Linked DNA regions of Homo sapiens: regions 2, 3, 4, 5 and 6 are each linked to region 1. Evidence: promoter capture Hi-C in 16 types of primary human blood cells and fetal thymus (Javierre and others, 2016). All regions are on one chromosome and are shown on one strand. Each heading gives the region's core, a stretch centred on a gene start or on the middle of the fragment in contact. The rest is flanking DNA. Distances are from core to core; before and after follow the strand shown.

Region 1 (3,799 bases), core at 1,297-3,796:
TCTAAAGTCTCATGTTCTACTTTATTTTAAAAATTTTTAAGAAGGGTATCCCTATCCCATCATTTGGAGTTCTTACTATCTTCCTGGTTTGCCACCTTTTTAACAACTGCCTAACTCTGAGAGCAGAAGGATTTATGAAAGGGTGTCTCAGAGCTCCTAGGAATCCACTAAAGATGATTTTGAGGGTCATGGCGATCAGAGGATATTACTGAAGGATGGCAGGGGTAAAAAGTAGCTACCTCCAGAGGCTTAAGAGGAAAAGAATAAAGAAAAAGGGTGACCGCTTAGGATGGCAGGGATAAAAAGTAGCTACCTTCAGGGCCTTAAGAGGAAAAGAATAAAGTAAAAGGGAGACCACTTAAATTGAAAAAATAAGGCAAAGTAACATTTTCACAGCATGAGGACAGCAAATAGCATGAAAAAAAGACAAGTCTCCCTGAAATTGGTAAACTGAAGTTTTTAAAGAGAACCACAAAAATAACCTAGAATAACCATTTTATAGTCACTTACTGATTCATTCATTTGCCTCAACTCTCAGAAAAATCTCTTTAAATTCCACCAGAAAACATCTGTCTTCACCTACTAAATTTTGTACCTGCTAATATGAGTTTCTTATTCCTTATGCAATTTGTGAAGAAAGCTCTATTTAGAAAAGATCATCCATGCAACAGGTGAGGAGAAGGTAAAATGGTCACAGAATTCATTTTGATGCAGTTCTCTGGGCTGGTATTAGTAATTAAGAAATGGGATCATGGCCTTGGGGAAGGTCACAGATTAACCATTAGTAGGACAAGAAATCTGAAATCAGATTTGGGGGTCACTAATAAAAGTAACGAGGAATCTTACAAACTTCAGCAAGAAATGCGAGAGGCAAGCCGCAACAGCTGCATGTGAGCAATGATTTAAAAACAGAAGCAGCAATAGAGAAAATAATTAGGGCTTCCAAGGCCCTTCTTTCATTTTTAAGAACACATAAACCATGAGGAGCGTTTAAGCTATCCTCATTGGGAGGCAGACCAAATGCAGCAAGAGGCAGTTCGGAAATAGGAAGCCTGTGGAAAAAAAAAAGAGCACAGTACCTCTTGGCGCTGGTGGAGAGGAGTTTGGAGTTTTTGCTCATGCTGACTTTACTCTCCTTCTTCTTGGGGGTGTTTGTTTCTTTCTCGGTTTGCTGGTTGGAAGACGAAGATGAGGAGGAGCTGGTGCTGGCCCTCGAATCGTCATCCGACATAGCGAACCCCCCACCCCACCCCGCAAACAGCCCCTGCAGGGGGAGAGAAACAAAACAGAAACACACAAACCATGCAGCCAGTGTAAATAAGGAACTCGGGTGCTGTCAGGAGGGCATTGACCAGGGGCGCACGCGGCCGCCCACCGCCCTCCACTCGCTTTTCAAAGTCTGCAGGCCCATTAAGGCTTTTGCAAATCGGACGCGGCTTGTTTATTTTTGGCCCCAAGTGGGGAACGCTGTGGGAAAACGGTCTGGAGCTAGGAGAGAGGCCCCTCCCTCGCCCCCCGGGGCTCTCCGCTGGGCAGGGAGGGAGTAGCCCGGGAGGCGAAGGAGGGCAGGGCGGGGGGCGCGGGGCGCCACGGCGGGGCAGGGAGGGAAGGTCCCGGCGGCCGGCCGGCCTCGGGGCTGTTTTTGTCCGCTTTCCGGGGGTCGTGAGGGGCCGGTGGCCCGGGTGAGACTGTGGGGCCACGAGCGGAGTTTGGCGAGGTCGGGAAGAGAGGAGGGGCGGGAAGGAGTAAGAGAGGAAGCCGAAACAGGGGGACGGAGGCGGGGAGCGGGTGCCCGGGTGGGGGAAGGGAGAGGCCGGCGGGGGGCAGGGGCGACGAGGCCCGAGGCCCCCCCGCGCCGCGCCCCGACGCCCCTCCCGGCCTGCCTGCCTCTGGCCGCCCTGCTCACAGCTATGCGGCCGGGCGGGGGTCCGGAGCACACGCCCGATCGCCACTCCTGTAGGGGGATAGGGGCTGCGGCGGGGAATGGGGGGGTCGGCCTCCGCAGCGAAGACATAACAATGAGCCCTTCCGCCCCGGAGGGGTTAATCCCCGCGAACCCCCGCCCCTGGGGAAAACGGGGCTCCCCCAACTCCCTCCCACCCCCGCTCCCGGGCCCCTCGGTGGCCAGTGGGGGGCTCTTGGGGCAGCGCTGACAGTTCGAGCCACAATGACCCCCGTCCTCAATGCGGGCGGCCCCCGCACCCCACGCGGCCCGGGGTCCCTGCCCATCCCCCGCGGGCGGGCCCCGGACCCCTGGGGCTCCCCAGCCCCTCTCCGCTCCCCCCCCGCGCCGGCCCCGTGCCCTGCGGCCCGGCGGCCCCGGCGGCGCGAGTCGGGGGAGGCGGCGAGGGGTGTCCCCGAGGCCCGGCGGCGCGGCCGGGGGGCGGCGGGCCGCTGGGGGGATCCCCGTACCTCTCTTTGTGTCTGGCTCCTCCGTGCCGCCGCGGCGGCTGCTGCTGCGGCTGCGGCTGGGCCTGGCCACTCGTGTCTCTCTCTCGCTGGGAGAGAAGCGGAAGTGCAGCAACAGCAACTATTAAACAGGCAATGGCTTCCCCCAGCCACACACGCTCGCACACACACCACTCCTCCGCCGCCGCCTCCTCCTCCTCCTCCTCCTCGCCCTCACCCCTCCCCCACCCGGCCCGGTCCCACCCACCCGCGCTCCCCTCCCCCTGCAACACCTCCTGGGGGTGCGCGAGGAAGACCCAGGAGACCCCAGGAAACCCTGTCCCCCACAGACACCCCCACCCCAGCGCCTCCTCCGGACGCCCGGGAAGGGGGCGAGGGTTGTGAATTTTCTCTTAAGTGGTTTGGGAACCTGGATTCTGGGCGGGAGAGGGGAAGCCGATGGAGATGGGGGGCGCTGGGAGTGATTGGAACTAGATGGAATAGGGGGGTCACGAGAGAAAGTTCTTTCCAATGAGGGCTTTTGGAAAGGAGAGGAGTAGGGAGGTGGCAAATTGGTGAAAACGTTGGTAATCTGGTGGTGGCAAAGACTTTAGAGAATGCAGCGGGTACTCCACCTAAAAAGCGATTAAAGAGAAAAAAAAAATCACACAACAAGGGTTTTCTTTGGACTGACACTTGCTTCTCCTTCTAGCAATTTACCTGCTAGGAGCAGAGGTCAGTTTAGGTATGCCTGTGAGAAAATCCCAAACTAGGAATTTTCTGCTCAGGTCACGCGAGGCACGTGCAGTTTTACAATATTAGATTCTTCCACTCACTTTTTATAGAAAGTGATGTGGTTTTTTATAAGAGTGATACAAAGGTTTTGGTGACAGGTAAAACCAACGTGTAACGGGCTTGCGAATGTGAGACATCACTGGGAATAAGCTATATACTACTGAATTAGACTGGATTTAGAATTTTTTGTGTCATTTTACATTAGATGTAAGGTTTGGTTTTTGGAAATTGGATGCAAAGTTCTGGGGATCGCAGAATCCCCAGATCGCTAAATTGACCAAATTATTTTTAAAATATTAAGCCATTTTTCTCTTTCTTTAGCTACCTATAAATGCTATGCAAATAATATTTTTGAAATGATCAGCAATTCTTCTGAATTGTTCCTTATTTAGCATTTTTGCCAATTTTTTTTTAATATTAAGCCATCAAATTACGATTCAGTTTCTCACCTTTTGTCATTTCAGTTGAAGGGAACTAAAGAGATGTGTGCCATTCAAATACAACAGTGCCACACATACAAGGTCTTGTACATTAAGGAGACAGCCTCAGATTTCCATAGGTCACTCTAAATTATCTCATTCAAACTGCCATCATTTTCCACAGCAACAGTGGCTTC
Region 2 (4,238 bases), core at 1,702-4,201, 840 kb after region 1:
TGTGGCAACTGTAAAGGTAATGTGTTACAGGTGGCACATCTACAAAATGCTAGCACGTCAGTCACTCTGGGTGCCTGTGTGACTGTGTGGAGCAGAGCCCTGGCTACTGTGAATTACATAGGTAGCCTACATGAATGAGAAATAAACTTTTTTTTTGTTGTTGTTTTTGAGATGGAGTCTCGCTCTGTTGCCCAGGCTGGAGTGCAGTGGCGTGGTCTCGGTTCACTGCAACCTCAGACTCCTGAGTTCAAGCGATTCTCCTGCCTCAGCCTCCTGAGTAGCTGGGATTACAGATGCCTGCCACCACACCCAGATAATTTTTTGTATTTTTTGTAGAGACGTGGTTTCACCATGTTGTCCAGCCTGGTCTTGAACTCCTGACTTCGTGATCCGCCTGCCTCAGCCTCCCAAAGTGCTGGGATTACAGGCGTGAGCCACTGCGCCCAGCCGAGAAATAAACTTTTACAGTGTCAAGCTCCTGAGGATTTGGATGATTAGTTACAGCAGCACAAGCTTAGGCTACTGTGAATAATAATTGATCTTACAGGAAGTAGAGTGTTATTATTATAAAAACCCAAAGTATTTTTGTATTGGCTTAATGATTGGGCCAAAGACAATGAGGATAGTGATATCAGAGACCAGAAGAATGCAGTCCATGTCATGTAGCAGCAAAATGTTTGGTAATACTGTCATGTGCTATAACTTGAGAGGCAGATCATATTTGAATAAACTTTAAGTTCTAGGGGAAAAGGTTGGAAAACAATGTTTTTAAATAACATGCTTCATAAAGAATGATGGGTGAAGATATTGGTCCATGTAACTTTTGGCAAATGAATAGAAAGAAGTCTACTAAATTTTTGAGAAGATCAAAGGAAACCACAAGATGGTAGAGCCTTGGTCAGTTTAGATACTTGAGCAACTATAGTGGATTAGAACACCGTGCTGCTTCCCATTGGATGTGAAATGTGTGTACAAAACGAACTTTTCTGCATTAAGTCATTGAGATTGGCAGTTATTTGTTCCTGCAGTGGAAGCTTTTCTATACTGACTGTTGCAGAATATAGCTGCTTTAGTACAGTGCTTAGCTAGCACAGCGTGAACACAAAATAAGTGTTACTCAATACCTTTTAATATTTATTATTATTATTATTATTATTATTATTATAGTTGTTGCTATACTGGTTAAGAATGTGTGAATGTGTGATTGGGTAGAGGATATCAGTCTGATAAAGAAAGGGGATAAAGCTATGGTAACCAGAGTAAAAAGTACCGTTAAAACTTTTGTTTACACATGGGTTGCAAACTGAAATATAAATAGGAGAGAGAGAGGCACTGTAAATAAATGAGGTAGGCTGGCTTTGACTCTGAAAATTGGGAGAGCATGAACCCTGTGCTAAGAGTGTAGTCACTCTTTGCTCCTGATAACACGGATCAAGTATTTTCAAGAGAGGCTGTAAAATAAAAAAATTGTAAGAATTTTCAGTCAGGTGCACGGGACTCACATCTGTAATCGCAGCACTTTGGGAGGCTGAGGCGGGAGGATTGCTTGAACCCAGGAGTTTGAGACCAGCTTGGGCAACAGAATGAAACCCTATCTCTAGAAAAAATTAAAAATCTAGCCAGGTACGGCAGCATGTTCCTATAGTCCCAGCTAATTTGGAGGTTTAGGTGGGAGGATTGCTTGAGTCCAGGAGGTTGCAGTGAGCTGTGATTGTGCCACTGCACTCCAGCCTCGGAGTAGAGAGCAAGACCCTGTCTCAAGAAAAGAAAAAAAAAAGAATTTTCCAAGAGTTTGCAGTATTGGCAATTAAATAAAATATTTAAAATAATACTAGGTGGTCCATGGACCACCAGACGGTGACCTCCATCAGAAGGCAGGTCCCAAGAACCAAAATGTCTAATGGCCAACACTGTCCCTGAGGATAAATCTCATCCCATCCGATATGTTATAATTTGCAGAATCATAAATGTTCAAGGTTATTGTAATTTGGATTCACTTCCCACCCATCTGAAATTTATATTCCCATTGCAACATCTCTGCCTAATTGTCTTCCAGCTCATAACTGAACATCTCCAGAAATGGGAGACTCAGTATATTATGAGGTATAGCTTATGGCATCTTTTGTGTCCTCTAATTGTTAGAAAGTTCTCTCTGTATTTGAAGTAAAGTCTACCTTCCCATAGTGATTCATTCACTTTGCTTCTCCCCTTCCCCCACTGTGGAGCCATATGGGAGTGGGCTGATACCCTATAACCACTTTTCTAGAGCTGGTGATCAATTGACCTAATAGCAAATAGTAGATTGTGTGTGTGTGTGTGTGTGTGTATTCCTGCTTAGCTATCCCCTCTCATACTTCCTGACCCTCCTCCTTTTCGGGCAATAGCACCTTGCTGTGAGTAGTCTGTGTATAAGAAGGCCACAGATCACAATATCCTGTTCTTTGCCTCCCAGCCTCCACCAAGCTACAGCGAATCCAAGGATGGCCATTAGAACACCCCATTCTTCAGACTTTGGAAATTGGCCCAGAGATGTGAGGATGTGCCGCAAACTGGGCCCCTTGGAATCCTTACTATAGATTTAACATGGAGTGCCGTAAGAGAAAAATGGTGTTTGTCCTCTGGGAATAGGAATGTCTGTAGCCATGTCTTAGTCCATTTGGGCTGCTATAACAAAATACCATAGACTGAGCACCTTATAGACAGCAGAAATTTATTTCTCACAGTTCTGAAGGCTGGAAAGTTTAAGATCAAGGTGCTGGAAGATTCCGTGTCTGGTGAGGGACCACTTTCTGGTTCATGGGTGGCTTCTTCTGGCTGTGTCCTCACACAGCAGAAGGGGTAAGGCAGCTCTCTGGGGCCTCTTTTGTAAGGGCGCTAATGAAACCATGCCCTGAAGAATTAAAGAAACCTGTGACTAACATAAAATATTGAGTTGCAGGATAGCAGTTAAGAAAAGAAACAACTTGCTGAAATTCTGAAAATCCCTCCATTTAAAAGGTAACAAAACTAGCTGAAATTAGTTGGGAGCAATGTGGCTGACTGGAGTTTGTGCAGAGTGAGCTTGCTGATGTCACAGCCTGAATTTCCACCACATTTCATACTAACTCCCCCCGAATTTGCACATGGGCCCCAAGAAAGAGGCATGAAGAGAGAACCACGCATGCCTGAGGACTTTCCAGACCTCCCCTTTCCTTCCACCAATCACCTGCTAATCTCGGAATCCACCCGCTAAACCTTTTCTAATAAAATAACTGCCTTAGCCCCAGCCCAGGGAGACAGATTTGAGCTTGACTCCTGTCTCTTTGGGAGTCTACTTGCAGTAAAAAGTCTTTCTTTTCTCAAAAACCCGGTGTCAGAGTATTGACTTCTAGCGCATCTGGTAGTGAGCTCCTTTGCCACGGTGACACCAATCCCTAATCACCTTCCACAGGCTCCACCTCCTAACACCATCGCATTGGGGATTAGATTTTAACATAGGAATTTTGGGGGGACACGGACATTCAGAGCGTAGCAGGCCATTTGCTTCTGACCCTAAACCCAGCTACATAGAACAAGGTGTCTATTCAGGAAAGAGTGAGGATACAGTTCAGAAAGTAGCAGAGCAGACAGAGAGGGAGAGAGGAAGAGAAAGAGAGAGAGAGAGAGAGAGAGACAGAGAGAGAGAGAAAGAGAGAGAGACAGAGAGAGAGAATGAACATTGATTTCCTGTGGCCCTCTTCATCCTTGCATTTTTTAGTTATGAAAAAATGCTTGCACTAGTTTGAGTTGAATTCCTGTCATTTACACCAGAAAGATCCTGACTGATCTCCTGAACTATGTTGGAGATCATGTTTACACAGTCCATGCAAAACTATAGTTTCAGTGCTGCTGAAAATGGTTTAAATTTTTATATCTTTTTGTATATCACTATTCAGATAATTTAAAATGTTTTTAAATCACGTCATCTGTAGTGACTTGTATATTAATTTCATATTTCTAATATGTTTAAGTTATCCTGTGCTTTAGATATATCATATTCATTATCACTCTTGAGTATTTCTGTTTTCTGTGGTTTTATTCTATTTTTGTTGCAAATATTTTTGCATCTTATGAATCTGTTACTCAAACTAATGCTACCACAAAATTGGTTTCCATTTTTTAGTGACCTATCCCTCTTTTGACAGTAACAGCAAAAAGATGAGATGGCTATGACTGAAATGTTCTATGGTTTATACGTCATAAAGCAATAACACATCATA
Region 3 (4,273 bases), core at 1,135-3,634, 740 kb after region 1:
CAATCTGTGTAAAGGATATATGGGAATTCTTTGTACTATTTTTGTAACTTTTCTGTAAATCTGAAATTATTTTAAAATAAAAATTCATACAGTGTTTCATAACCCAGATATACATAGCCACTGCCTTGCTCTTAGCAATTTACATAGGTTGTCTCCCATTTTTTTTCTATTGCAAATCGCCCTGCAATGAACACATATCTTTCTGTATATCAGCCAGTATTACTGCTGAATAGAATTGGAGAAGCAGAACTGTTGAGCCAAAGGTCATACACACCTTACATTTCGGTAGATTTCGGCAAGTTGCCAAAGGCTGTTTAGCAAACATGAGGTTTTATTCTCTTGCAAAATTATGAGAAAGGTTTTATTAAAAAGTTAGATTATAACCTATACAAAGGTCATCTTTCAAACTGATCAAATTTAGGTCCTCGGAGTTTAGAAATTTAGCCAACCCTAAGTTGTTTGCGTATGTGTTACTGAGACACAGCAGGGACTCCTCTGAGGGGCCTGCTGGGCCCGCTCAAGCATAAAAATGAAGGCAAATCTTGAGTTTCTTCAAGGAAAATTCCAGGTACCTAGCTAGCTTTGAAAAATAAATGAGCAACCTGACAAGCAAGAAGGTAACAATAGCTTGAAACAATAGCCAAGGAAGTTAGAGCCACAAAATGTTTAGTTCCCTATAGAAACTAAAGATAACACCTTAACACATATCCTTGAGTTGTTTTTCAGAAACCTGGACACCTACCAAATAGAAAATGCCATCCATTGGCACATAGACCTCAGATAAAGGGGAACTGAGGACTGAACTCTGACTTCTGTTCTTTGTTCTCAATTTCTTCCTGAGGGACCTGGAGGAAGTTATGCCCACAGGCCAGAGCTTAACATTCCTTTCGACTGACCCCAAGTTTTTAGACAAAGCTTTACTTCCTTAATCAATTGCAAATCAGGGAATCTTTGAATATACATGACCAGTAAGCTCCCCTGCTTTAAGATATCCTGCCTTTTAAAGCCAAACCAATGTATAACTTCCATGTATTGATTTATGATTTTGCCAGTAACTTCTACTTTTCTGAAATTTACATCTGCCTTTAAAAACCCTTGATTGTAAGCCATCCAGGAGGTTGGGTCTTAAGTGTGAGCTGTCGGATTCTCCTTGCTTGGTGTCCTGCAAATGAATGCCCTTGTTTCTCCTGCTATAAAACCTCAGTGTGGATATTTGGTATTACCATGCTGAGTGGGCAGACCTGAGTTCAGTTCCATTACATTAACTGCTTTTCCCGCTTTATCTCTAACAATTTCAGTGCCCTGCCTTTCTGCATCCTTCCTTTGCCCTGGGGTTTGTAACTCAACTTCTGCCTCCCTGAATTCCAGTTTGCCAGAAATGCTAACAGATTTTAGTCAGGAGAGTAAAAAAGTTAAAATATTACTTACAGAAATTAATTATATGTGGTTTTTAAAATTAAGCATGACATTGCTTCCTTTCATGAACATACGTAATTGTATTGGTTCATTCTCATATTGCTATAAAGAACTATCTGAGACTGTATAATTTATAAAGAAAAGAGGTTTAGTTGGCTTATGTTTCTGCAGGCTATACAGGAAGCATGGCTGAGGAGGCCTCAGGAAACTTACAATCATGGTGGAAGGCAAAGAGGAAAGAGTCATGTCTCACATGGCCAGAGCAAGAGGAAGAGAGAAGGGGGAGGTCCTACACATTTTTAATAACCAGATCCCATGGGAACTCACTCACTATCATGAGAACAGGAAGGGGGAAGTCAGTTCCCATGATCCAGTCACATTCTACCAGGCCCCTCCTCTAACACTGGAGATTACACTTTGACATGAGATTTGGATGGAGACACAAATCCAAACCATATCAATAACCAATAACAGTTATAATCCTTTATAAAACCAAGTGATCTAATATCAAGGTTGAATTGAAAATGTTATAAAGTTGTTTTACAGTTTATAGAACATGCTTGTGTTTGGTCTGTGAATATAATCACAAAATTTTAAAGATGGAAAGAATGCTATAGAGCATTTGGTCCACTCTCTTCTTTTGTAGATGTGAAAACTGATTCTCAGAGTTTGATATAATGACTGAAATCACATAGCTGATAACTGGCACAAGGGTTAAGTACCAGTTTTCTGACTTTTTAAACTACTCCTTCCTGCTTCATGTCTGTACTATCTCAAAGGTCTATAGGCTGTGTCATGGAACAAGTCATGTTATTAAACTACAAGTTGGGAGGTGGTGATTCAGGGTAGGATGGTTGAAATAAAAAATTATTTCTAGTATATAATGAAGAAAAGTTTGTGTAACGTGACTGTGTAAATGATTTATACCAAGCCCCTAACCAGGAAATATACTGATAAATTGTGTACTTCTCTTTTGATTGATGGGAACTACGTGAAAAAGCCCAATAATACGATGAGTATTAAAAATATCTTAACATCATGGGAGCCCCTGAAACTTTTGTGCAAGTTATAATTCCTTCATGCATCATATGTATATCCAATTTTGCTGTATTTAGAAATGATTAGATTTTCCTAGATAATTTGTGAAGTGGAAACTTGGATAATTAAGTTCCTAATTCTCTTTGCAGTGGCGTAATTCAAACTAAGATTGTACCAATCAGCTTTTATAATTGAAATAAACAATTCTTTGAGTGCTTATGCCATAATGAGGAATAATAACATATAATACATTATTAGTGCCAATTCCTCTCACCCCCACCAAATCATTCATATTTTGCTTAAAAAAATGTATTTTTGCTGGCTAACACGGTGAAACCCCGTCTCTACTAAAAATAAAAAAAAATTAACCAAGCGTGGTGATGGGCATCTGTAGTCCCAGCTACTCGGGAGGCTGAGGCAGGAGAATGGCACAAACCTGGGAGGTGGAGCTTGCAGTGAGCTGAGATCGCGCCACTGCACTCCAGCCTGGGTGACAGAGTGATACTCCATCTCAAAAAAAAAAAAGTACTTTTGTGTTAAGTTGGATGTGGGTGTATACAACATTCCAGAAGCTCAGAAAATTTCACATAGAATCCTCAAGTTTGAATGCAAATAGACTATATCTGTAACTTCTTCATGACTGGTGGGATCACTTGCAGAGAATATTAGGAGTTGGAAAACGTACATGGGTATGGGAGAAAATTTTGTAGCATGGCAGGAATAACTTGGCTATGAGTCTGGTCTTTAAGAGAAAGAGGATGGCTTGTCAGTGAAAAGATAGTTTCTATCCCACTGAGTCTTGGGATTTGCTCCTGACTGGGATTGATGTGTTTATTGAAGGGGATCCATCTGATTAGTGAGTGGCAGCAGCAGGAGTTTCAATCAATGGTGATACCATAATTGGGGTGGCTCCAAGTCTTCAGCTGGTGGTGGGCTCAAGAAAGTAGATAATCAATAACTGGGCAGATGGACAGGTCCCAACTAGGTGATTCTCAACCCTCTCCCACCCAATTTCCTCCATTTCAAACAAATATTTTGTTACACTTAACATTTATTGATAATCTACCTACAAACATAATTTAAAAAATCAGTATGCTCTAATTATAAAACAGAGAAGTAAAAGTAAATAATACTATTTATTTTTAATATATAATGCTTGTACAGAAATACACTGGAACAGTGCTTCTCAAACTTGACTGTGCATACAGATATCCAGAGATCCTGTTAAAAAGCATATTCTGGTTCAGTGGGTGTGGGATGGGCCTTGAGATTTCACATTTCTCACAAACTTCCAGGTGATGCTGATGCTGTTGGCACGTGGAATACACTTTGTGAGTAGCCTGGTCCTAGAGGACATAATGAAGAAATCAGAGCATTGCACTGAGAAAGAGAAAGCTTATGAATAGAACTGGACACAGGTGTGCTGAATTGGCAATTGAATTACCAGAAGTGTTGTTGCCATTATTCATGTGATTTTTTTTTAGGCAATTCGCGAACAATTCTTAGTAAAATTGTGATCAAAACAAAGTCTATTTTTCCCTTGATTTGCACAGTAGTTGCATTCCTACAAAAATACTTTGTGTTCATGTGTGAAATGAAGTTAACCTCTAGGCTCAGATTTATACACACATTTTTCACCTAACAGAATGTCCAGTGGAATACTTGACATTTTAATGGAATGTATGCATTCTTTATGTGCGGGACTATCCCATGGATGTCAGGACAATTAGCATCTGTGACTCCTGACCACTAAATATCACACCCAATTCATTGTGACAACAAAAAATGGCCCTGTCAGTTTCCCAACTTCTTTGGGGTG
Region 4 (4,066 bases), core at 993-3,492, 650 kb after region 1:
TTAATTCTTAAGCTAATCTTTTATTTAGCCTTCATTTGAGATAAATGTCACAAGCAGAGAGGGCAGGAAATGGCATCTTGATGTCTTAAGTAGAGAAATTAGAAGCTCATAAATCTCAATGAACCTTGAATTAATTAGTGGAGAAGTTACCTTTATATCATTGTGCCTCAGATGATTTGGGGTCAAAGAAGGAATACTGGGGGTATAATTATGAATGCTATACATATAAGTGCAAGGATAGTGGCAACATTTTTGATTGACTGTTATATAAAAAACACTCTTGGCATTGCAGTGCCTCTTATTAAGGTTAGAGTATTGTGAGTTTTACTAGAAGTCTGAGTGTGTTTAATGCTGGCAATACTGAAATCAACTCCATCATAAATTTAAAGTGAGGACACCATTTATTCTAGGGGCTTCTGCAAACCCAAATATAGTCATCACTTATTCCTATTTAAAACTTCATGTGTCCTAACAATATTCATACATCACTGCGGCAACATTGCCATTCAACCCTCAGGTCAGTCAGTACTTTAAAACCACGACAAAATTTCTAAATAAAAAATTATATCGATAATTGTAAGATTTGAAAGAGAAAAATAACTTTTAGATGAGAAGGAAAATGAGCTCTTTACTTTCTTCTTGCCCCATTGTTGCCTTTATTAAATAACCCTTCTGATTTCATTGTATAATGATACAATATTAGAAAATAATTGATATGGTTTGGACAATTATATAAACATTAACACAAGTTGAGACAGTTATTTTGAATAATTTCTGGATCTAATTATAAAATGCTGAAAGGAAATTATAAGCATTAAGACAAAGTTGAGACAGTTATTTTGAATTATGTCTACACTGAATCATAAAATACTGAAAGCAAATATAGACACAGGTTCATTCTTTAATGTAGAACATTATAGGCTGCTTGATGGTCAGAAAACCACAAGTTTAAGTTTATCTGCAAAGTAAGTTGTAGTAATTGTTAAGGTCAATGGTTCATATTTTAAACAATCTGAGAATGTGGTAAGTATTTAGCAAGCTAGTGTTTAAAAACACTCATAAATATGTATTCCTAGAATATAGCTATTAAAGAAAGTCTTGTCAACTTTCATGCACTTTTATGACAGATTGTTTTTCATTTGCACACAAAGGATACATGGCTGGTTCAAAGCTCAGAACAGTTCAATAGCAGTTATATGATACCATGACAAGTTCTATCCAAGCTTGTTTAAACATATTCCTCAGGGAATGCTTCAAAGAATGGCACACAGTTACAACTGGAAGAAACTGCTTTATTAATAGTTGGCAATTTTTACAAATTCCAGGCATGTTGCACAGACTCTGCTCAACCGAGCCATCGATTATAGTTAACATCCGTCTCTAAAACAAGTGCTTAAATCTTGTACAAGTATTAAAAAAAATACTTTCATGCAAGCCAAGTTTTATCTTACATAAATTATCTTACATAACTTGACGTTAAACAAAGAGGAGCAATGTGAAATATAAGAAATTCCATATCCGATTAAGAACTTGGTACTCCCTTTTACCAAAGTGTGAATAAGGGTTCCAGCTCAGGGTCTTTTCAACACCCCTCCAGGCGAGAGAGAACTTTTAATCTTCTGTTTCTCCTTTTCTCCTTCATTCTCATTTCTCCTTTCTTACCATGTATTCTATTTTCTTTCCCATGATGTTCTATTTCTCCTTCCTTTGTTGTTTATTTCCTCTTTTTTCTCCCTCCTTGCATTTATTTTCTTCCCTCCATACTCTCAATTCTCCCTTTTATCACCCTGCCAATGTCAAAATCATTACATGCTAATCGAGCCAAATAAATTGCAACTGCAAGGACATGACCTGATGTCTACAGCAGAAAATGTTTAAATTATGAATTTTCCTTTTGTTTATACAGGCAATTACAAGAAATTAAATGTTAACTTTGAAGTCAATCCTTAATCAGAGGTGTTTTTACATAAAACCACTACATATAAAATGCAGAGTGCAATTACATTAAAAAAAACTATTTCATTTCATTTACTAGTAGCCACTAATGGCTCTTTAGACTCAGCCTATTAGGTAAATGAGCAAACAGTTAGCTTATTTGTTTGAAGTATAAGTAGCAGATAATTCATGAATAAGTAAATTATACTTTCTTGCTGTGGTATATTAACAGGATGATTTTATATTATTTTATTTTTAATTGACAATAATTATACTTATTCAAAGGGTACATAATGATGTCTCCATATATATACAGTGATCAGACCAGGGTAATTAGCATGTCCATTATCTCCAATGTTTATCGTTTATTTGTTTTGGGAACATTCAATATGTTCCTCCTAGCTGTGTGAAACTGAATATTATTAACTGTAGTCATCCTACAGTGGTATAGAGTACTAGAACTTATTTCTCCTATCTAGCTGTAATTTTATAACCTTTAACAAATCTCTCCCTATTCACTCCTTCCCCCATCCTTTCCAACCTTTGGTATCTTCTGTTCTACTCTTTTACTTCTATGAGATCACCTTATTTTAGGGTCCACGTGTGAATGAGAACATGCAGGGTTTAACTTTCTGTCCCTGGTTTATTTCATATAACATAATATCTTCCTGTTCCATCTAAGTTGCTGAGAATGACTGGATTTCCTTCTTTGTTATGGTGGAATAGCCACTGTGTATATATACTACATTTTCTTTATCCATTCGTCTATTGTTGGACACCTAGGTTGATCCTGTATCTTGTGAATAGTGCTGCAATAAACATGGGGGTACAGATGTTTCTTTGGTATAATTGTTTCCTTTCCTTTGGATAAATTCCCAGTAGTCGGATTGCTGAATCATATAGTAGCTCTATTTGTAGTTTTTTGAGGAGCCTCCATACTGTTTTCCATAGTGGCTGTGGTAGTTTACATTCCTACTGACAGTGTGTAAGAGTTCCCTTTTCTCTGCATCCTTGCCAGCATTAGTTATTTTTTGTCTTTTTGATAAATAGCCATCCTAACTGGGGTGAGATGATACCTCACTGTGGTTTTGATTTCCCTGACAATTAACGATATTGATAATTTTTTCATGTATTTGTTGACTATCTGTATGTCTTCTGAGAAGTGTCTGTTCAGATCATTTGCCCATTTTTTTTAGTTGGATTGTTTGTTTTTGCTGTTGATGTTTGAGTTCCTTATATATTTTGGATATTAATCCCCTATAGGATGAGTAGTTTGCAAATATTTTCTCCAGTTCTCTGGGTTGTCTTTGCTGTGCAGAAGCTTTTTAGTTTGCTATAATCCTATTTGTTTATTTTTGCTTTTGTTGCCTATGCTTTTGAGGTCTTATTCATAAAATCTTTTCCCAGACCAAGGTCTTAAAACATTTCTTCTATGTTTTCTTCTAGTAGTTTTATCATTTTGGGTCTTATCCTTAGGTGGTTGATCCATTTTGAGTCGGTTTTTATATAGAGGAAGGGCAGGTCTAGTTTCATTCTTCTGCATACAGATATCCAATTTTCCAAGCACCATTTCACCTTTGTAAAAAAATCAGTTGGCTGTAGATACTTGGATTAATTTCTGCGTTCTCTATTCTGTCCCATTAGTCTATGTGTCTTGTTTTATGCCAGTACCATGCTGTTTTGGTTACTACAGCTTTGTAGTATACTTTGAAGTCTGGTAGTGTGACACTGCCGGCTTTATTTTTTTGGATTACTTTGGCTATTCTGGGTCTTTTGTGGGTTGACATAAATTTTAGCATTTTTTTCTGTTTCTGTGAAGATGTCATTGGTATTTTGATAGGAATTACATTCAATTGCTTTGTGTAGTATTGCCATTTTAACAATATTTATTCTTCCAATTCATGAGCATATGATGTCTTTCCATTTGACTTTTAGCCTCTTCAGTTTCTTTCATCAGTATTTTGTAGTTTCCCTTGTAGAGGTTTTTACCTCCTTGGTTAAATGTATTCCTAGGTAACTTATAAATGAAATTGCCATCTTGATTTCCTTTTCAGATAGTCTGTTGTTTATATATAGAAATGCTACCTTTTTTTTTTTTTTTTTTTTTTTGAGACAGAGTCTCACTCTGTTG
Region 5 (4,257 bases), core at 129-2,628, 580 kb after region 1:
ATCTCAAAAAAAAAAAAAAAATACAAAAATCAGCTGAGCATGGTGGCATGTACCTGTAGTCTCAGCTACTCAGGAGGCTGAAGCAGGAGAATCACTTGAACCCAGGAGGCAGAGGTTACAGTGAGCAGAGATCACGCCACTGCACTCCAGCCTGAGTGACAGAGAGAGACAACTCAAAAAAAAAAAAAAAGGGGGGGGGGGCAAAAGATGTAAACAGACATTTCTCAAAAGAAGACATGCAAATGGCCAAAGGGTACATTAAAAAATGCTCAACATTGCTACAATGCAATATCTCACTGAGGTTAAAAAGGCTTAGATCAAACAGACGGCAATAGCGGATGCTGGCAAGGATGCGGAGAAAGGGGAAGGCTCGTACACTGTTGTTGGGATGTAAATTAGTACAGCCACTATGGAGAACAGTACAAAGGTTACTTACAAAACTAAAAACAGAACTTCCATATGATCCAGCAATTCCTATACTGGGTATATATATTTATATATTAGTCCATTTTCACGCTGCCCATAAAGACATACCTGAGACTGGGCAATTTACAAAAAGACGTTTAATGGACTCATGGTTCCACCTGGCTTGAGAGGCCTCACAATTATGGTGAAGGTGAAAGGTACGCATCACATGGTGGCAGACAAGAGAAGAATGAGAGCCAAGTAAAAGGGGTTTCCCCTTATAAAACCATCAGATCTCGTGAGACTTATTCATTACCACAAGAACAGTATGGGGGATACCACCCCCATGATTCAATTATCTCCCGCCAGTCCCTCCCACAACACGTGGGAATTATGGGAGCTACAATTCAAGATGAGATTTGGGTGGGGACATTGCCAAAGCATATCAGTATATATCAAAAAGAAAGGAGATTAATGTATCAAAGAGATATCTGCACCTCCATGTTTACCCAAGTACCATTCACAATAGCTAAAATATGGAACCAACCTGAGTGCCCATTAACAAATGAATGAATAAAGAAAATGTGGTATATACACACAATGGAATATTTAATTCAACCATAAAAAAGAATGAAATCCTGTCATGTGCAGCAACATGGATGGAACCACAGGCAAGGTTAAGTGAAATAAGCCCAGCAGAGAATGACAAATGTCACATGTTCTCACTCTTACATGAGAGCTAAAAATGTAGATCTCAAAAATAGAGAGTAGACTGGTAGTTACCAGAGGCCAGGAAGGGGAGTGGGGGGATCAAGAGGAAAAAAAGAATATAAATATATAAATGTATATTCACTGAACTTTACACTAAAAATGGTAAAGATGGTAAATCATGTATGTATATTTTACCTCAATTAAAAATATTTTTAAAAAAGAAATACTTGGGTAATCAAGTTCAAGACCAGCCTGGCCAACACGGTGAAACCCCGTCTCTACTAAAAATACAAAAATTAGCCAGGCATGGTGGCGCACGCCTGTAATTCCAGCTACTCGGGAAGCTGACCCAGGAGAATCGCTTGAATCCAGGAGGTGGAGCTTGCAGGGAGCCAAGATCACGCCATTGCACTCTAGTTTGGGCGACAAGAGCGAAACTCCGTCTCAGAAAAAAAAAAGAAGTACTAACGCATGCAGCAACATGGATGAACCTTGAAAATATTACACTTTGTAAAAAAAATTTTAAAAGCCAGACACAAAAAGCACACAAGATTTCATTTATACAAAATGTCCAGATAAGGCAAATCTATAGAAACAGAAAGTAGACTAATTGCTGCCGAGGGCTGGTGGTGAAAGAGCTGGGGGAAAATGGGGAAGGAGTGACTGCTAAAAGGCATGGATTATTTTTTGGGAGGTATCAAAATATTGCAAAACAGACTGTGATGATTACAAAACTCCGAGACTATACTAAAAACCTAAAAGTATAAGTGAATTTTACACTTTATATCTCAATAAAGCTGTTATCAAATAAAAGACAAAATTAAAAAGCAGCGCCAGTGTTCCATGAGCAGATTCTTGAAACACATAGAAATAGAAGTGTAAACTGCTAGTATAACTACATCCTCTTTTTTGGTTTACTTCCTCCTTTTACTTGTTCAATTACTAGACCAAAAATCAAAATCCAAATAAATCATTTTACCTTAGTCTTTTCTTCCAAAAAGTAATAAGGATTCTCTGTCATTCCCCTGCTCGTAAACCTAATACAAACTTTAGCAGTAGCAGATCATAATAGCATTTGAACAAGTTAGCTTCTCTGTGATACAGAGGAGCAAGTTATCCTTTGGATGATGACGATTTTAATTTTAATTTTTATCTGGAGATTTGCTGGCCCACTAGCTGCCAGTTCTCCACTAGCACCGAGGAAGTATAAATGAACACACTGACATGCACAGATCTAAGATCTTGCTTTTAACAATTTGTGAAGAACTGTGAAAGTTACAACCTGTAGTCATTTATAAGGGGCAGTGAATCTACCTGTTAGAGGTCTGTAAGGATAAAGCATCAATTTGACCCACTCTATCCATCTAAGCTGGTGTGCAAGGCACCAAGGTAACGAGCAATTCTAACCAACTGCCCAGCACCTCTAACTCAGCAGTAGTATGAAAACATTTATTGATCAGTGGATCTGTGAAGGCCTCAGGATAGAACCCTTGCAAATGTCATGGGTCAGTTATGTTAGCCAACATGACAGTTAAGGCCAAGAAAAATATATTCCACTACTTATAGGAAATACTCTAAGCATATACCAAATTTCACTCAAATGAAGTGTAATTTTCTATGCCTATGGCCCTACAGACGCTACGATTTTATGAGCAGAAATTTTTTCTTAGCTATAAAGTTTTGTTTTAAAATATTTACCCATTAAACTGTGAGTAATGTTTTTAAAAAGGATGACATATTTAACCCAACTTCAAAAATAAAACTATCTTACTGCATTTTTACTTCAAAGACAACAATAAAGTGAGAAAAAACTGAAATATGTAGAGGCAAATATCTCCTACATGAAATAATTCAATCTATTAAATCATTTGTAGGTGTTCTTTAAAATAATATTTGTTTATTCAAAACCTGAAAAAAAATTAACCAATACTATATTAGAATAACTTCCTCTAAAAATGCCTTACATAAAACTTTATCTACACTGAATGCTGTGATTCGGGGTGACTTGATAGTCTCAACTTCTTTAAATAACAGATTTGCACAACGCTTAAACACATACAGTTCCTTCAATATGATTCCAAAAGAAGCTTAACTAGATATCACCTAAGAGATGCACCAAAATTCAGAGGTTCCATCTAACCTGACAAACACACAGTATTGGGTTGTCTGTTAAGGTTCCCGAAAATAGGATAAACCACACTCAAAGTGGAATGTGACACACACCCACCCCTACCCAGACAACCAGTAGAAAAAATCGTTCTCCACTCTCTGACTAAACAGGTAAAACCCACAGATGTTCCCTCACATATAATCTTTACATGTGATAGCAGACTAACAACTACCCAGGGAACCAAAAGGCAGGGTTTTGAGAGGCATGTGTGATAGGAGAGGTAATCCACAAAGGGAGCAGAGTAAGGGGATGCTTTCTTCTGAAATGAGATATGACTTAACTGATTAAGTAAAGGACTCTGACTTCTATTAGGCAGATAACTTTAATTTGCTCTATTTTGATAAATTAATCCATTACAGTCATTAGGCCAATGCAGGCAGTGCAGAACTTGTAAAAATCAACCACAAAAGCACTGTTAACTTTGACCAAAAATAAGCCAAACTAACACTGCAATCTAATCTCTTTCTGAAGATGGTAACCACATTTTCACCGAAATACAGATGGGCAGATTAACTACAAACCACAACCAAATATTTGACACCAAACAGTCCAAAGACCACAGTGATGCACTTAATAAGCACACCAAACATCCATATTAAGTAACACAAGCACACTGATAAGTGTTGATTAACCAGTTTTACATTTTCTATCAGCTACAGCACAGAGGACCCTTTGCTTGCCAAAGGGAGTGCCATACGAAGGTAAATAACCTTTCTCTCTGCCTGACCCAGTCCAAGCAACTGTTTTAGAATCAATAAAAGGAGCCAAAGCCACTGCACTGCAGACCTAGCTTCTAAAGCAAACTTATCAGCTATCCAATCCTCAGCCCACAAGTGAGAATTTCCTTACAAATTCCCAAGTCAGAAAATTAACTAAAGTAGATATCTTCCCTGAAACTGTTTGAAGGGCTTATTATGTGTGACTTCTACATTTAAAAATTAAAACCTGTAATACACATTTTGCTCTATTTA
Region 6 (4,385 bases), core at 257-2,756, 770 kb after region 1:
TGGATGGAGGATTTCTGTGCAAGGAGCAGTCCTTGCATCCACCTTTTGGGTGGTGCTGGATTTACCATCTTCATGGTTCCACAGCAAGTGATTTTACCCATCAACCTTGTGTATGTGATGTCATTTACCACTTCCTAGTTTAAACAAATAGTTTTCCAGCAGGACAATATGCACATTGCTCTATTGTACTAAATTTGTTTCACATTCCAAATTGGCAGGAATTTCTCCATGTGCTTGGGTATAATAGCATTTCTTGATATGATAATTATCATCTAGTTGTCTATATTTATGTATCTACCTAACTACAAGAGAAAATTTGCAGCAGAATATCTGTCTTTTCATTTTTGCTTTTTACTCTTATCATACTATAAAACACTTTCATAATAGTTTAAATAATTTCCTGGGGGAGTTAATTTGGCTAAGTCATCGTTCTTTTTTTGGTGCTTCAGTTTCTCTTTGACTCTCATGGAATGTTTGCTTTTGCCCTTTGGGTGTTTAAAGACCACATTTTGTAGCCCCAGTGTTCTTTCTAATTATAGAAGTGACATAAGAAAAACGGAAAGTAAGTAAGAAGTGGAGAACAGAGTCATTAAGGGAGAGTCTAGATCAGAGAGATGTCAAAGAGTTTCGTTGGGTATTTAAGGAAATTAATGAATAACTCATCTGGGACTTAGAGATAGTGACTTAAGTCGTAATTAATCCATTGATATAGCACAAAATAAAAAAAATACTGTATTTAGAAAAAAATAGTATGGTAGAAATACTGGGCATAATTCTTATAAATATAGACTTCACCTTAGTATTCTTGAGAGAAGTCAGACAAGGGGAAGAGTACTCTATGAAAATTAAAAAAAAATTCCATGGAAGTGTTAAAATGTGAAGAAGAAAATTTAATGATTAATATAGTAGAGGGAAGGGATCCATTCCAAGATGGCCGAATAGGAACAGCTCCAGTCTGCAGCTCCCAGCGTGATTGATGCAGAAGATGGGTCCAACCAGTTTGGACAGTGTGTACAGCCCATGGAGCATGAGCCGAAGCAGGGTGGGGTGTCGTCTCACCCAGGAAGTGCAAGGGGTTGGGGGATTTCCCTTTCCTAGCCAAGGGAAGCCAGGACAGGCTGTACCTGGAAAAACGGGACACTCCTGCCTGAATAATGCACTTTTCCCAAGGTCTTAGCAACTGGCAGACAAGGAGATTCTCCCTTATGCCTGGCTTGGCAGGTCCCACGCCCATGGAGCCTTGCTCACTGCTATTGCAGCAGTCTGAGATCAAACTTCGAGGTGGCAGCCTGGATGGGGGAGGGGCGTCCACCATTGCTGAGGCTTGAATAGGTAAACAAAGAGGCCAGGAAGCTTGAACTGGGTGGAGCCCACCACAGCTCAGCACAGCTTACTGCCTCTATAGACTCCACCTCTGTGGGCAGGTCATATTTGAACAAAAGGCAGCAGACAGCTTCTGCAGACTTAAACGTCCCTGTCTGACAGCTTGAAGAGAGCAGTTGTTCTCCCAGAGCAGTGGTTGAGCTCTGAGAATGAGAATGGACAGACTGCCTCCTCAAGTGGGTCCCTGACCCCCGTGTAGCCTAACTGGGAGACAGCTCCCAGTAGGGGCCGACAGACAACTCATATAGGCAGGAGCCCTTCTGGGATGAAGCTTCCAGAGGAAGGATCAGGCAGCAATATTTGCCCTTCTGCAATATTGGCTGTTCTGCAGCTTCTGCTGGTGATATCCAGGCAAACAGGGTCTGGAGTGGACCTCCAGCAAACTCCAACAGACCTGCAGCTGAGGGACCTGACTGTTAGAAGGAAAACTAACAAACAGAAAGGAATAGCACCAACATCAACAAAAAGGACATCTACACCAAAACCCCATCTGTAGGTCACCAACATCAAAGACCAAAGGTAGATAAAACCACAAAGATGGAGAGAAACCAGAGCAGAAAAGCTGAAAATTCTAAAAACCAGAGTGCCTCTTCTCCTGCAAAGGATCGCAGCTCCTCACCAGCAATGGAACAAAGCTGGATGGAGAATGATTTTGACGGGTTGACAGAAGTAGGCTTCAGAAGGTGGGTAATAACAGACTTCTCCAAGCTAAAGGAGCATGTTCAAACCCATCACTAGGAAGCTAAAAACCTTGAAAAAAGGTTAGATGAATGGCTAACTAGAATAAACAGTGTAGAGAAGACCTTCAGTGACCTGATGGAGCTGAAAACCATGGCATGAGAACTTTGTGAGGCATGCACAAGCTTCAATAGCCGATTTGATCAAGTGGAAGAAAGGGTATCGTGATCGAAAATCAAATTAATGAAATGAAGCGAGAAAACAAGGTTAGAGAAAAAAGAGTAAAAAGAAATGAACAAAGCCTCCAAGAAATATGGGACTATGGGAAAAGACCAAATCTACGTTTGATTGATGTATCTGAAAATGATGGGGTGAATGGAACCAAGTTAGAAAACACTCTTCAGGATATTATCCAGGAGAACTCCCCCAACCTAGCAAGGCAGGCCAACATTCGAATTCAGGAAATACAGAGAACACCACAAAGATACTCCTCGAGAAGAGCAACCCCAAGACATATAATTGTCAGATTCACCAAGGTTGAAATGAAGGAAAAAATTTTAAGGGCAGCCAGAGAGAAAGGTTGGGTTACCCACAAAAGGAAACCCATCAGACTAAAAGTGAATCTGTCTGCAGAAACCAAGCCAGAAGAGAGTGGGGGCCAATATTCAACATTCTTAAAGAAAAGAATTTTCAACCCAGAATTTCATATCCAGCCAAACTAAGCTTCATAAGTGAAGGAGAAATAAAATCCTTTACAGACAAGCAAATGCTGAGAGATTTTGTCACCACCAGGCTTGCCTTACAAGAGCTCCTGAAAGAAGCACTAAATATGGAAAGAAACAACCAGTAGCAGCCACTGCAAAAACATGCCAAATTGTAAAGACCATCAATGCTAGGAAGAAACTGCATCAACTAACGAGCAAAATAACCAGCTAACATCATAATGACAGGATCAAATTCACACATAACAATATTAACCTTAAATGTAAATGGACTAAATGCTCCAATTAAAAGACACAGACTGGCAAATTGTATAAAGAGTCAAGACCCATCAGTGTGCTGTATTCAGGAAACCCATCTCACATGCAAAGACGCACATAGGCTCAAAGTAAAGGGATGGAGGAAGATCTACCAAGCAAATGGAAAACAAAAAAGGGCAGGAGTTGCAATCCTAGTCTCTGATAAAACAGACTTTAAACCAACAAACATCAAAAGAGACAAAGAAGGCCATTACATAATGGTAAAGGGATCAATTCAACAAGAAGAGCTAACTGTCCTAAATGTATATACACCCAAGGCAGGAGCACCCAGATTCATAAAGCAAGTCCTTAGAGACCCACAAAGAGACTTAGACTCTCACACTATAATCATGGGAGACTTTAACACCCCGCTGTCAATATTAGACAGATCAACGAGACAGAAGTTTAACAAGGATATCCAGGACTTGAACTCAGCTCTGCACCAAGCAGACCTAATAGACATCTACAGAGCTCTCCACCCCAAATCAACAGAATATACATTCTTCTCAGCACCACATCACCCAGCTTCCAAAACTGACCATATAGTTGGAAGTAAAGCACTCCTCAGCAAATGTAAAAAACAGAAATCACAACAAACTGTCTCTCAGACCACAGTGCAATCAAATCAGAACTCAGGATTAAGAAACTCACTCAAAACTGCACAACTACATGGAAACTGAACAACCTGCCCTTGAGTGACTGCTGGGTAAATAACAAAATAAAGGCAGAAATAAAGATGTTCTTTGAAACCAATGAGAAGAAAGACACAACCTACCAGAATCTCTGGGACACATTTAAAGCTGTGTGTAGAGGGAAAGTTATAGCACTAAACGCCCACAAGAGAAAGCAGGAGAGATCTAAAATCAACACCCTAACATCACAATTAAAAGAACTAGAGAAGCAACAGCAAACAAATTCAAAAGCCAACAGAAGACAAGAAATAAGTAAGAGCAGAACTGAAAGAGGTAGAGACAAAACCCCTTCAAAAAATCAATAAATCCAGAAGCTGTTTTTTTGAAAAGATCAACAAAATTGATAGACTGCTAGCAAGACTAATAAAGAAGAAAAGAGAGAAGAATGAAAGAGATGCAATAAAAAATGATAAAGGAGGTATCACCACCAATCCCCCAGAAATACAAACTACGATCAGAGTATACTATAAGCACCTCTATGGAAACAAACTAGAAAATCTAGAAGAAATGGATAAATTCCTAGACTCATACATCCTCCCAAGACTAAACCAGCAAGAAGTTGAATCTCTGAATAGACCAATAACAGGCTCTGAAATTGAGGCAATAATTGATA

The links. The method cuts DNA at HindIII sites, captures the fragments that hold promoters and counts their contacts. A CHiCAGO score of 5 or more calls a contact.
Region 2: a contact is called between a fragment that was not itself captured here and the fragment with the promoter of UBE2E1 in region 1, in 1 of 17 cell types (M2 macrophages). The highest score is 6.3, in M2 macrophages.
Region 3: a contact is called between a fragment that was not itself captured here and the fragment with the promoter of UBE2E1 in region 1, in 2 of 17 cell types (M2 macrophages and M1 macrophages). The highest score is 6.5, in M2 macrophages.
Region 4: a contact is called between a fragment that was not itself captured here and the fragment with the promoter of UBE2E1 in region 1, in 1 of 17 cell types (M1 macrophages). The highest score is 6.5, in M1 macrophages.
Region 5: a fragment that was not itself captured here is called in contact with the fragment with the promoter of UBE2E1 in region 1 in 6 of 17 cell types (naive B cells, M2 macrophages, monocytes and 3 more); the score reaches 9.0 in naive B cells.
Region 6: a contact is called between a fragment that was not itself captured here and the fragment with the promoter of UBE2E1 in region 1, in 1 of 17 cell types (fetal thymus). The highest score is 7.0, in fetal thymus.

What each region holds. Positions count from the first base shown.
Region 1 is chr3:23,804,702-23,808,500 of GRCh38, reverse strand. UBE2E1 (ubiquitin conjugating enzyme E2 E1) reads right to left here and starts at 2,546. Exons shown (of 6, transcript NM_003341.5): 1 at 2,413-2,546; 2 at 1,080-1,264. The coding sequence starts at 1,231. UBE2E1-AS1 (UBE2E1 antisense RNA 1) reads left to right here and starts at 1,596. Exons shown (of 2, transcript NR_046652.1): 1 at 1,596-1,682; 2 at 3,787-3,799. RefSeq lists an enhancer at 1,031-1,120 and silencers at 1,421-1,600, 1,801-2,100, 2,291-2,420, 2,501-2,610. The HindIII fragment of the contact is 12,732 bases long and covers 1-3,799 here.
Region 2 is chr3:22,961,851-22,966,088 of GRCh38, reverse strand. No RefSeq gene overlaps it. Among named protein-coding and RNA genes, the nearest start is that of UBE2E2-DT, 240 kb to the left of the region's middle. RefSeq lists a silencer at 3,100-3,310. The HindIII fragment of the contact is 3,830 bases long and covers 1,037-4,238 here.
Region 3 is chr3:23,064,779-23,069,051 of GRCh38, reverse strand. No RefSeq gene overlaps it. Among named protein-coding and RNA genes, the nearest start is that of UBE2E2-DT, 140 kb to the left of the region's middle. RefSeq lists an enhancer at 284-985. The HindIII fragment of the contact is 2,934 bases long and covers 918-3,851 here.
Region 4 is chr3:23,154,687-23,158,752 of GRCh38, reverse strand. No RefSeq gene overlaps it. Among named protein-coding and RNA genes, the nearest start is that of UBE2E2-DT, 46 kb to the left of the region's middle. The HindIII fragment of the contact is 2,033 bases long and covers 1,226-3,258 here.
Region 5 is chr3:23,218,959-23,223,215 of GRCh38, reverse strand. All of the region lies in intron 3 of UBE2E2 (ubiquitin conjugating enzyme E2 E2), which reads right to left. Among named protein-coding and RNA genes, the nearest start is that of UBE2E2, 18 kb to the right of the region's middle. The HindIII fragment of the contact is 3,655 bases long and covers 1-3,205 here.
Region 6 is chr3:23,033,065-23,037,449 of GRCh38, reverse strand. No RefSeq gene overlaps it. Among named protein-coding and RNA genes, the nearest start is that of UBE2E2-DT, 170 kb to the left of the region's middle. RefSeq lists an enhancer at 1,299-1,799. The HindIII fragment of the contact is 301 bases long and covers 1,356-1,656 here.